2 separate regions of the Homo sapiens genome follow, and region 2 is linked to region 1. Evidence: promoter capture Hi-C in 16 types of primary human blood cells and fetal thymus (Javierre and others, 2016). All regions are on one chromosome and are shown on one strand. Each heading gives the region's core, a stretch centred on a gene start or on the middle of the fragment in contact. The rest is flanking DNA. Distances are from core to core; before and after follow the strand shown. Region 1 holds the start of TMEM263-DT (TMEM263 divergent transcript). Region 2 overlaps POLR3B (RNA polymerase III subunit B).

Region 1 (5,918 bases), core at 453-2,952:
CTGGGATTAAAGGCGTGAGTCATCTGTATTTTATTTTAACAATCTAAGAAAGGGAGGTCACAGAATGGGAATCAAGAACTTAGAGGAGTTCAGACTATAAAACGAAGAAATACTACAAGTCATGTATTTGTTTGTTTTATAGGCTGAACTCCTACACCAGAAGTTTCTGATGAACTCATGACCTCCCAAAGGAGCTCTTTTAAATCTTAGTTAGTTTATGAAACAGATTCAACTGCTGCTTTGAGTTATGGCTTTTAATAACCGTAAAAATGCAAAATCTCCCAGGAGTGGCTACAATCTTGTCAGTCATTTGTACTTTAATAATAATTAGATTCTCTTGTAAAACGACGTGCAAAGGGAAGAAGAAACAAGACGTAATTGTGCACTTCATAATTTTACCTAGAGTTCAACCTTGAAAGGTCACATATTAAGGATAGAAGTTTGTGTAATAACGAGAAAACAGAGGATATCCGTTTCTTCACATACTGGATAAACAACAATCCACGGATCCTGCTAATCATCCAACCCATATGTTGAATTGACAAGAGTATTTAATTTCCTCTTTCTGCTTTGAGAAACTAAATATCTTGACAGTCTGAGCACAGTGGCTTAAGTGGCCTTAATTCTCTGATTTCATAAGTTAATGATTAGGTTGAAGCTATAAACTATAGTCCATTCCATTTAAGACCTGGATCAAAGTTAGCTTCATCCAGCATGTTTTAGCACGTCCTTTCTGAGCTATGTTGTCAGTAGTTACCATTCAGTTCCACCATCCTGAATATTCTGCAGTTGATAAACCATTTTGTGAATTTTTTTTTTTTGCTTTCTGTGTATGTTTTTGACTCGCGTGTTTTTGCTTCGCTAATCAGATTGCGAAAGGAAACATCTCACGTTTGCATAGGACTTCACAGTTCATAAAGACCTTTCCCACCCACCACAAAAAAAGTATGACAAGTTTCCCGTCATCTTCATTTTATAGGTGTGGAAAGGGAGTCAAAGAAAAGTTAATCGATACCATTTATCTAGTTAAGCAGGCTTTGAGCAGTTCATCTCCTCCCGTCCTCAAAACGACCTTCTGAGGTGTCTCCTGCAACCCTGCTCTGAAGCTCAGAGCGAGACGGCCTCACATCCCAGGGGGCTCAGCTCTGGCGGGGCCGCCACGCGCCTCCCCGTGCCTTTGGACGGGTGAGGAGAGCTGCTGCCCCGGCGGGGACCACGTGGAGGGGCCTGGTCAGCAAGTGGCAAGGACGCGGCGCAAAGCCAGGCTTTCTAATGTACAATCCGCGGCTCTTTCGATACTGAACACCCACCTCTTCAACAAATTCGAGCGCCTGGCAGGCCCTGCACCAAGCCTAGGGTGATGGCGACCCAGGCGGGTTTTTACTCTCAAGGAGCTCAATTCTAGGGCAGGGAGAAGTAAAATTAAAAAAAAAAAAATCATAACAAACTGAAAAACACATAAATAAGCCACGTCTCTCCTCACCCCTAGCACTTAATCACAAAGGCCTGTAGAGAGTCCCGACGAGAACTTCTGAGCAGGCCCCGCTGTCAGTCCCTGAGGACAGCATGCAAGGGAGGTTGACGTCCCTGGACGAAGAAAGTGCTGGAGAAACTGGCGACCGTCCCACCTTCCCTAAGGCGAAGGCTCTGAATTCCGAAGACCGTTACTCGGCGCGGAACGCGGGCACCGCCGACGTCAAAACACCGGGCCTGGGGGCCGCGGCCTACGCGTCTCCCGGGCTTCGCGCCCCTCGCCCGATTTGATTGGATGGTGGCGGGAAGAAGGCGGGGAGACCCCCGGAGGAGGGGCGCGCAGGCCGGCCGGGGGTTCCCACGGAGGCGTCCAGGGGGCGAAGGGGCGGGAGCGGGCCTCGGAGCGTCGCGCGTGCGCAATTGGGACACAGCCGGCTGGGGACTGCTGGGAGGGCCGGACCCTGCGAGAACGGGTGGGCGTGTGCCCGGTGGGCGCGGGAGGGGCCCGGGCTGCACGAGCGCGCGTGCGCGTCGGAACTGGAGCCGCGGGAGGAGGCGGGAGCTGAGGAGGCGGCGGAGGGGGCGGGTCGCGTCGGGCGCCACGTCCGCAGCCAGAGGCCTCCGCCTCCACCACCGCCGCCACAGTCTTCCAGCTCCACATCCTGAGAGGACGCCTCTGGAGCCGCGACTGCCCGGGGTTGTGCCGGCCGCCGCTGCCGCCCAGGCCGCCTCAGCTCTCCTCTGCGCCGGCCCGCTCACTCCGCCCGGCCCCAGCCCTAGCGCTGGCCGCGACCCCGGCGGTGAGTGAGTCGGGATGCGAGGGCAGGGGCGCAGTCCCGGCTTCCTGCCCTCCTCCGTCGCCCTCTGCCGTCGGCGCCCCTGCCCCTCACCTCCCAGTGCCCGGCCTGGCTGCCCAGCGGGGCCTTGGCGAGGCCCCAGCGGGAAAGGGGGAGGGGCGGGACGAAGTTGGGGGCGGATGGAGGTTCGCTTCTGGGGCTACTCCTCCTTATACGTCGCTGACTGCCCCGCCGCGATTGGAGCTTGCGCACCCCTGGAAAGCCTCCGCCTGACTTCTTAGCATCTGGGGGTTCGGGGTTGGGGGCGGAGGAGGAAGGTGAGGGGCATCAGCAGCCTGGGAGAGGGATGCAGCGGAGGGGCTTGGGTACCGGGCTTCCTCGCCCTGCCAACTCCTGACCTGTTGCTAAACCTCCCTTTTGGGTTCAGGCACACAAGACTTTTTCCCAGTGGACACCCCCATAGCTCTTCCTGGGTAGGAAGGCTGTATCTCCACGCCTAACCTAAAGTAAAAGTGGGAATGGAGAGGGTGCTGGCCGCGCCCAGGGGTGACAGGGAGGGCTGGAGCACCCATCCGTGCCGTCACTGCCTCCCAGTCTAAATAAAAACTGCCTGCTCTGCACACGCAGCTTCAAGACCGACCCCCCAGCTCCCACTTCCAATCAGATCGCCTGTCCTAAACCCTTCTTACATAGAAATTCTGGAGCCCTTCGGGAGTGGGGGGAGTGCTGGGTGTACAACGTGGAGCGGAGGGAGGAGGTGCCAAGCTCAGTGCTAGCCACGGCGCCTCCAGGGTCATTTTCTGCCTCCTGCCACGTCACTCACTGCTAAAGAAAAAAAAAAGATTTGCTAGTGCCTAAAGGGATCAGTAGGGAGAGAAGGGGCCACCCGGAAGGGTTTAGAAACACCTAGAGAAAAGGGAAGGGTTCTTAATTTGATTTTTGCGTCCTTGTGAACACTGTGCTAATTCCAAATGAAAATATTTGCTATATGTGATTATTTGCTGTATGCTATTGTTTAGCCTTTGAAACTTCTGCTGGTGTGAGTGCCCTCAGGGGTTCCCCAGGAATATCGATACAACACCAACAGGTAAACGCGCGCGCCCGTGTGTGTGTGTGTGTGTGTGTGTGTGTGTGTGTGTGTGTGTGTGTATGTGTGTGCGCGCTCGCGCCCATGCTTAACTTTTTAAAAAGAAAGGGAGAAGTAGCCTTTGATAAACCCATATGCATCCTGTTTTGCTTTTTCCACTTTCATTTCTTTAGTCTTTGTTAGAACAGATGTACCAGAAACCAAGTTCAGTAAAAATTTGTCCATTTATAGAAAGCATCGTTAGAAATTATAACGGTTGCTACATTGGACAAATATACAGATTTCTTTGTGTGTGCATGGGTTTGATTTTTTTTTTTTTAACTACAGGAAAATCTTTACCTTTGTTTCAGTTATTCGGTATTTGCTCTTTTTCTATTTCCGGAAGATATCTCACTGGATTATATATAAACATCTTGAGAATAAGACCTTTGTATGCTTGTTCACAAGGATGCCTCAGTGCCTAATAGAATGTTTGACACATAGTAGGAATGCAAATATCTGTTGAAATAATGTGAAGATGGTTTACTGGTTCTCTGGTTTAATAGAGTATTGTAATTCTGCTTAATGTTTCATTTAAGGATAACCCTTAAAAATTGCCATTTTGACACTGTCAGTTATTACTCGTCTAAGTGGGCACTTACAAGTTTTACTGGCAGATGACCTTTTCTTCCTTGCTAGATTGAGAGCATTTCTTGTAGCCTATTTGCTGTTGATTTAATGGGCAGGGGCCATCTTTAAAAGCAGACTCTTCTTGATAGTTGGTTTAACTAGAAAAACATAAAAACAGTAAGCTGGAGTTTTAATGTACTCTGCTTGTTGGTGTATATGTTGTAAAGCTCTGTATACATATATTTTTGAATCTCTTTGCAGTTATTTGGCAAAAAAGCTAAAACATGGGAGTGAGGATGTGGTAAAGTTCTTTTAGGTAGAATATGTAGAAGAATTTAGCTAATTCATTTATAGTCGTCTTTTTCTATTATAGGGAAATTGGCACCTACTGTTGAATAACAGGTGGTTTTAAGTGGCTTTGACAATAAACTTGTGCACTGTATTTTGTAGTTAAGCTTTATATAACGTGTTAGTGTTATTTAACTTCCTTTGGTGTATAGAGGGGTGGTACCCAGAGGAAAATTTATGTACTGTTTTTGGAATTTTTTATTATGAATAAAAATTTTATATATGAAATATTACTGAAACCCACAAACAAGATTGATTCATCAAAGAAAACACGTTTCCCAAGAGGTGTTTGTTTACTTATTTCTATTATTGGAATAAATTACCCTTTAGGGAATTGTGTTGTTAATCCTTGCTCAGTGTATTTGCCAGCTGCTAAATCTATGTGATACTATTGTACTGGGCAAGAATTATTTCTCCCCATCTCTACAATGCTTAATGTAACTGCTGATGAATTTGTAGTCGTGATATACAGTCTACAACAAAGAAGCCTTTCATATGTCACAATTTCTTAAAAACCCACTTATAACCAGTTTAGTTGGTATTGTAATAGTTTATTCACACTTCAGGACCAAAAGGTAGAACTGATTTATGTCTGTAGAATAAGTTAAATCATTTGTACTTATCTAAAGCTATTGTCTGTCATTACTACTTTCCTTAGAAAAGTATGTGTTGTTTTGTTTTTTTGGTAGAGATGAGGTCTTGCTGTGTTGCCCAGGCTGCTCTCAAACCCCAGGGCTCAAGCGATCCTCCTGCCTCGACCTTTCAAAGTGCTGGGATTACAGGCATGAGCCAACATGCCCAGCCAGAAAGTATGTTTTTAATAGAAACTTGTGCATTATGAGGTCCTAGAGAGCAGATATATTTGTTTCTTGAATATATAATTTGTTTCTTGAATGATTCACTAAATGGCAAGTGCCGGAAAAGTCTATTCCCACTGGATTGTAAACTCTGGTTTAGAGTAGTGCCTGTGTGTGCTTAATCACACTGAACTCCTAATTGTGTAACAGGGTGCCTGTCGCATAGTAGGGCTCAAGTATATGTTGAATTAATGATTCAGTGAGTTCAGGGCAGATAGTTTGTATAGAATTTAATAATTTTAATGTATTACTTAAGGGTAACATTTAAAAATGGTCATTTTGAATTTTTTCTTTTTTGATATGGAGTCTTGCTCTGTCGCCCAGGCTGGAGTGCAGTGGCTTGATCTCCACTCACTGCAACATCCGTCTCCCAGGTTCAAGAGATTTTCCTGCCTCAGCCTCCCTGGTAGCTGGGATTACAGGTACCCGCCACCACACCCTGCTGATTTTTCTATTTTTAGTAGAGATGGGGTTTCAGCATGTTGGCCAGGCTGGTCTGGAACTCCTGACCTCAGGTCATCTGCCTGCCTCAGCCTTTCAAAGTGCTGGGATTACAGGCCCATTTTGAAATTTTTACTGTCAGTTGATACTTGTCTCTACATATATACTCTAAAATTTTATTAGTAGATTATTTACCTTTCAGAGTTTTAGATTGGGGTCTATTTATCTTCACAGTTCCTACTATAAGAGAAACAGGTCTCCTGCAATGGTGATAATAAGCAGGATAGTAATATAAGAAGTATTTCT
Region 2 (5,942 bases), core at 3,443-5,942, 510 kb before region 1:
GCTCTGTCACCCTGAAGGAGTACAGTGGCACAACATAGCTCAGTGAAACTTAAAACTCCTGATCTCAAGTGATCCTCCCACTTCAGTCTCCTGAGTAGTTGGGATTACAGGCATGAGCCACCATGCCCAGCCTTAATGTGTATTTTTTAAAAGGAGTTGCTTCTCTGATTTTAATACTTGATTACTGCCAAAGTTGAACTAATGAATCAAGCTGTATAAAAATATACTTACCTCTGTTAGAGATGATTTTTGTCCATGGACATCTGAATTCTTGTCAGTGCAGGAATTCTCTACATAGTCTGTTCAAAAACTCTAAGTTTATGTGCAGTATGCACTTGAATTGGTAGTATGTTCACAATATTTCTTCTTGAACAATGATATTTTTAGAAGCATCTGTGTTCCATTTTAGAGTACATTAAAGAACATCTATGTAACTTGCTGTCTGATGCATGTGACTGATGTACCACTTACCTGAAATTGGAATTCTTGCAGATATATTGCTAGAGAGTTTAATACTACCACCTAATAACTATTTATGTCTTCAATCAAGAATAAGTACTTTTCTGACCCAGTGTAATGGCTCACCCCTATAATCCCAGTGCTTTGGGAGACTGAGGCAGGAGAATCGCCTGAGGCCAAGAGTTTGAGACCAGCCTGGACAACATAGCAAGACCCTATGTCTAAAAATAAAAATAAAAAATTAGCTGGACACAGTGGCACACACCTGTAGTCCTAGCTACTTGGGAGGCTGAGGTGGAAGGATCATTTGAGCCCAGGAGTTATGGGTTACACTGAGCTATGATTGTGCCACTGCACTCCAGCCTGGGTAAGAACCTATCTCTTAAAACAGGAAAAAGAAAAACTTTTCTGTTTTCTGCTACCAAATGAAATATATTACTTTTTAGAAGATTATAATTTACCAGCCTGGGTAACATGGCAAGACCCCGTCTCTACAAAAAACTTAAAAATTAGCCAGGTGTGGTGATGTACGCCTGTAGTCCCAGTAACTCAGGGGGCTGAGGCTAGAGGATTGCATGAGTCCAGGAGGTGGAGGCTCTGTGAGCCATGTTCATGCCACTGCACTCCAGCCTGGGTGACAAAGCAAACCCTGTTGCCAATATATATATTGCAAATATATATATTTTTTGCACTTTGTAAATAGTGGTTTTTGGTCAGAATTTTTCTTCCTTAAAGATGTGAATCTCTCAAAGTGCTATTTTATACCCCTCATTTCAAAATTGACTGAGGGCCAGGTGTGGTGGGTCACACCTATAATCCCAGCAATTTGGGAGGCTAAGGCATGAGGGTTGCTGGAGCTCAGGAGTTTGAGATCAACCTGGGCAACACAGTGAGACCTCATCTCTACTAAAAATAAAAAAAAGTTAGCCAAGTGTTGTGGTGTGCACCTATGATCCCAGCTACTTGGGAGGCTGAGGTGGAAGGATCACTTGAGCACAGTTTGAGGCTGCAGTGAGCTATACTTGGAACACCACTGCATTCCAGCTTGGGCGAGAGAGTGAGACCCTTACTCAAAAAAAATATAGATATAGATATGTATCCTGAGTATAAAAGAAAACTATTTTATAGTAGCCCCATAAATGACAGTTCCATCGTTGTATTACTCAAGCCAACAAAACTGTCTATTTCCGTCCTGACCCTTTTTCTCTATATTGACATCAATCCCTAGCTCATCACATGAGCCTTCCAAATACATCTGGAATCTGAACTCTTTTTCACTACCTCAATCCATCACCTAGTCCAGGCCATTTGTATGTCTTACCTGGATTTTTGCAAAGGCCTCCTGACTATTTTGACACCTGTTCCCATATAGTCTTTTCCTAATAGAGCAGAGGGGGCATGTCCGTTCTCTTCTCAAATCCCTCAGGGGCTGTCGGTCTCCCTCAGAAGTCCTTACAGAAGCCTTCCAGTTCCTGCACAATCTGCCCACTTCCATTTCTACCTCTCCCCACTCCCTGTTTCAACCACACTGGCCTCTTCTCCAAACACTCCAGGCGTGCCTCTGCCTTAGCACCTTTGCACTGGCTGCTTCCTCTGCCTGGAGCACTCTCTCACATACCTGCATGGCTCACTGCTTCACCCCCTCCAGGTCTTCACTTAGGTGTCACCTTCTCGTGAGATTTTTCTGACCACTCTAGTGAAAGTAGAAACTCTTATCTCTATCCACTCCTCTTTACTACTTTTTTTTTTTTTTTACTTCTTGTGCCTATTACCATAGAGTAAAATTGGTATTTTACTGATGTATCTATGTATTGTCTATCTTCCCTCACTTAGAAGCTTCACGAAGGCAGGGATTTTCATCTGGTTTTTCATTGATGTAAATGAATATAACTCTCAGCGTTACCCAATTACCAAGCTATTCCATACATCAAATTAATTTCATTTAAAAAATCTAGAAGTTTTTGTATTATTTAATTCATACTTATGTTTTTTAAAATATAGAAATGCATGAAGTACAAAGAATGAATCCCCTTCCTTTCCCATCCCACCAGACTCCACCCTCCAGAAGTTGCCGATGCTAATAATTTCTTATGTACTATTCTAGATTTTTTTTCTGAGTACAAACATACACACATGATTCCACACAATGTGTGTGTATAAAACAGTGATAACATTTCCAGTGCCTTGATTTTGAAACTTAACCAGTATACTCTGGACATTTTCCATATTAGTATATATATTTATATACATGTATATTTGTATACACAGTCTTATGTCACTTAATGATGGGGATGCGTTCTGAGAAGTTTGTTGTCAGGTGATTTCATTATGTGAATATCGTAGTGTACTTAAACAAACCTAGATGGTGTCTGTCACCCACTGTCACCTACTACACACATAGACTGTATGCTAAAGCCTATTGCTTCTAGACTACAAACCTGTACAGCATATTACTCTACTGAACATTGTAGGCAGTTGTAGCACAATGGTAAGTATTTGTGTATCAAAACATATCTAAACAAAGAAAAGGTATAGTAAAAATGCAGTATTATAATCGTTTGGAACCACCACCATTTATGCAGTCTGTTGTTGACCAAAATGTTATGTGGTGTGTGACTGTATACATATATATATTTTTTTAATTGCCATTTGTTATTACATTATCTACCTACACACATTTAGTTTATTAACTAGTTTCCTACTGTTGAATATTTAGGTAGTTTCCAATTTTTCTACTGTTATAAACAACAGGTTATTTAGTTTTCATTCGAACTAAATTTAAGTGCTTTATACACAGTGAATAAGAAATCTCGGCTGAGTGCAGTGGCTCACGCCTGTAATCCCAATACTTTGGGAGGCCAAGGCAGGCAGATCACCTGAGGTTGGGAGTTTGAGACCAACCTGACCAACATGGAGAAACCCTATCTCTACTAAAAATACAAAATTAGCTGGGTGTGGTGGCGCATGTCTGTAATCCCAGCTACTCCGGAGGCTAAGGTGGGAGAATCACTTGAACCCGGGAGGCGGAGGTTGCAGTGAGCCAAGATCGCACCATTGCACTCCAGCCTGGGCAGCAAGAGCGAAAATCCGCCTCAAAAAAAAAAAAGAAAGAAAGAAAGAAAGAAATCTCCCAATTCCTGTTCAGTTTCTAAACTGATGATTTTAAAGAGAATAATTTTTTTTTTTTGTAAAGTCAGAATCTAGAGTGTTTGGACTTCCAGTAATTATTAGATACTATGTGAGTTTATGTATGTTGTCACCATAAGAGAAAAAAACTTCAGATATTTCTTTTCATTTTTCAACTCAATCCAATGTTAACATCTGAAAAAGTAGTTTTTACTTAGATGGAAAATGTCAACTTGGCCAATATTTAAACAAAGCAGTATATTTAAAAGAAAATCTGTTTTCTTCTAGACTATAAAATGTAGCTATAAGCTGATGTTCTTTAAAGAAAAAAGCAAAACAAAACCTAGAGTATTTTCCCTTCCTGCTTAACAAAGGAAGTCTTTTCCCTTCCTGCTTGTCTGAGAGGATTGGGGTTCTGCTAGGTCATAAGGTGAAAACAGTACTCTTCAAACCAAGAACCACATGGAAGGCACTTTCTCTCACCAAACTAGGGACATAATTTAATACATGTGTTTTGGAAAAAAAAATAGGTTAATAACTGGATAAGTGGGAGATCTTTTACCAGGTACATTCCATTGATGGGCTGGGACGTGGTTTCTTGGACATCACTTCAGTCCACAGGTGCTGTAAACCACTGAAATTCTTAAGGTTACACTTCACAAACACTTGAGGGAAAAATAGCGGGTCCACAGAGATCACAGATCCTGGATGACACATCTGGTACTTTCCACAAATACCTATAATTAATCTGGGTACTCTTTCCTATTAACACATCTGAGTAGCTTCATCATTTGGCCAAAAAACTGAATTTTCTGCAGAAATATATTATGAAAGTAACCAAGATTCTGACATCTACTAGGTAAAATCTTACTTTGTGTCCAGTACTACCCATAGCAGAGCTGTCCAGTAAAATAAAATGCAAGCCACCTATATAACCTCAAACTTTCTAATAGCCACATTAAAAAGGTAAAAAGAAACTGGTAAAATTATTTTGAATAATAGTTTTATTTGTCAACATATCCAAAATATTATATCAACAGGTAATTAATATAAAACTAATGAGCTATTTTACACTTTTTTTCCTACTATAAGTCCTCAAAATCTGGTGTGTGCTTACAGCACATTTCAACTTGGATGCCAATTTTTTATCAGAAATACTAGATCTCATTTCATAACATTTACACTTTTAAAAGATTCATAAATGTGAGTTGTTCCAAGATAAAAGATTTTATATAACTGAACTGAGTTACTTAAATTTCAATTTGAGTTTTAAAATTTAAAGTAATTAAGTAAAATTTAAAAATTCAGTTTCTCAGTCACACTAGCCCGGCATTTCAAGTGCTCAGTAGCCACAGTTATCTAGTGTCTAGTGGCTATGGTATTGGTCTCTGTTGGTCTATAGTAACTATTCTTTTTTTTTTTTAAGACAGAGTCTTGCTCTGTTGCCCGGGCTGGAGTGCAGTGGCAAGATCTCAGCTCACTGCAACCTCCGTCTCCTGGGTTCAAGCAATTCTCCTGCCTCAGCCTCCAGAGTAGCTGGGATTATAGGTGCCCGCCACCATGCCTGGCTAATTTTTTGTATTTTTTAAGTAGAGACAGTGTTTCACTGTGTTGGCTAGGCTGGTCTCGACCTACTGACCTCAAGTGATCCACCTGCCTCGGCCTCCCAAACTGCTGGGATTATAGGCGTGAGCCACTGCATCCGGCCTATAGTACCTATTCTTTTTTTTTGAGACGGAGTCTCGCTCTCTCGCCAGGCTGGAGTGCAGTGGCATGATCTCAGCTCACTGCAACCTCCGCCTCCCGGGTTCAAGCAATTCTCCTGCCTCAGCCTCCCAAGTAGCTGCGACTACAGGTGGGTGCCACCACACCCATCTAATTTGTATTTTTAATAGAGACAGGGTTTCACCATGTTGGCCAGGATGGTCTCGATCTCTTGACCTCATGATCCACCTGCCTCGGCCTCTCAAACTGCTGGGGTTACAGGCATGAGCCACTGTACTTGGCTAGTAACTGTATTTAAAGGACGTATATTCCACTCTTAAATGGTGATACAACCTACTCATTGATATATGTTAGAAGAATGAGGAAAAGCAGGCTAGTCATCCATGTGAATATTGTTGATGTATTTCTATGTGTTGAATATAGTAATTTATGTGTTAATTACAATTTCTTATGTTTTACTGTATTTTATTTAAGTATGTTTTTATTTTACCAGTTTTACTAGCATCAAATTTTATTGACATATAAATCCCTGGAGGACCTAGATAACAATATTTTTGTACCCTTTAAAAGACATTTATTTTTGTACTTGATGCTTAAGATATGTGATTTTTACTTAACTTGTTAGAGACACC

The links. Contacts are between HindIII fragments. The CHiCAGO score rates a contact against its expected background, and 5 or more counts as called.
Region 2: a contact is called between a fragment that was not itself captured here and the fragment with the promoter of TMEM263-DT in region 1, in 2 of 17 cell types (naive CD4 T cells and M2 macrophages). The highest score is 6.5, in naive CD4 T cells.

What each region holds. Positions count from the first base shown.
Region 1 is chr12:106,953,793-106,959,710 of GRCh38, forward strand. It overlaps TMEM263-DT (TMEM263 divergent transcript), which reads right to left and starts at 1,703. Exons shown (of 1, transcript NR_185933.1): 1 at 1-1,703. TMEM263 (transmembrane protein 263) reads left to right here and starts at 2,115. Exons shown (of 4, transcript NM_152261.4): 1 at 2,115-2,273; 2 at 3,290-3,357. RefSeq lists a silencer at 1,743-2,502 and enhancers at 1,779-2,073, 3,003-3,062. The HindIII fragment of the contact is 6,686 bases long and covers 1-4,419 here.
Region 2 is chr12:106,438,528-106,444,469 of GRCh38, forward strand. POLR3B (RNA polymerase III subunit B) reads left to right here. Exons shown (of 28, transcript NM_018082.6): 19 at 5,936-5,942. Among named protein-coding and RNA genes, the nearest start is that of POLR3B, 84 kb to the left of the region's middle. The HindIII fragment of the contact is 4,799 bases long and covers 2,294-5,942 here.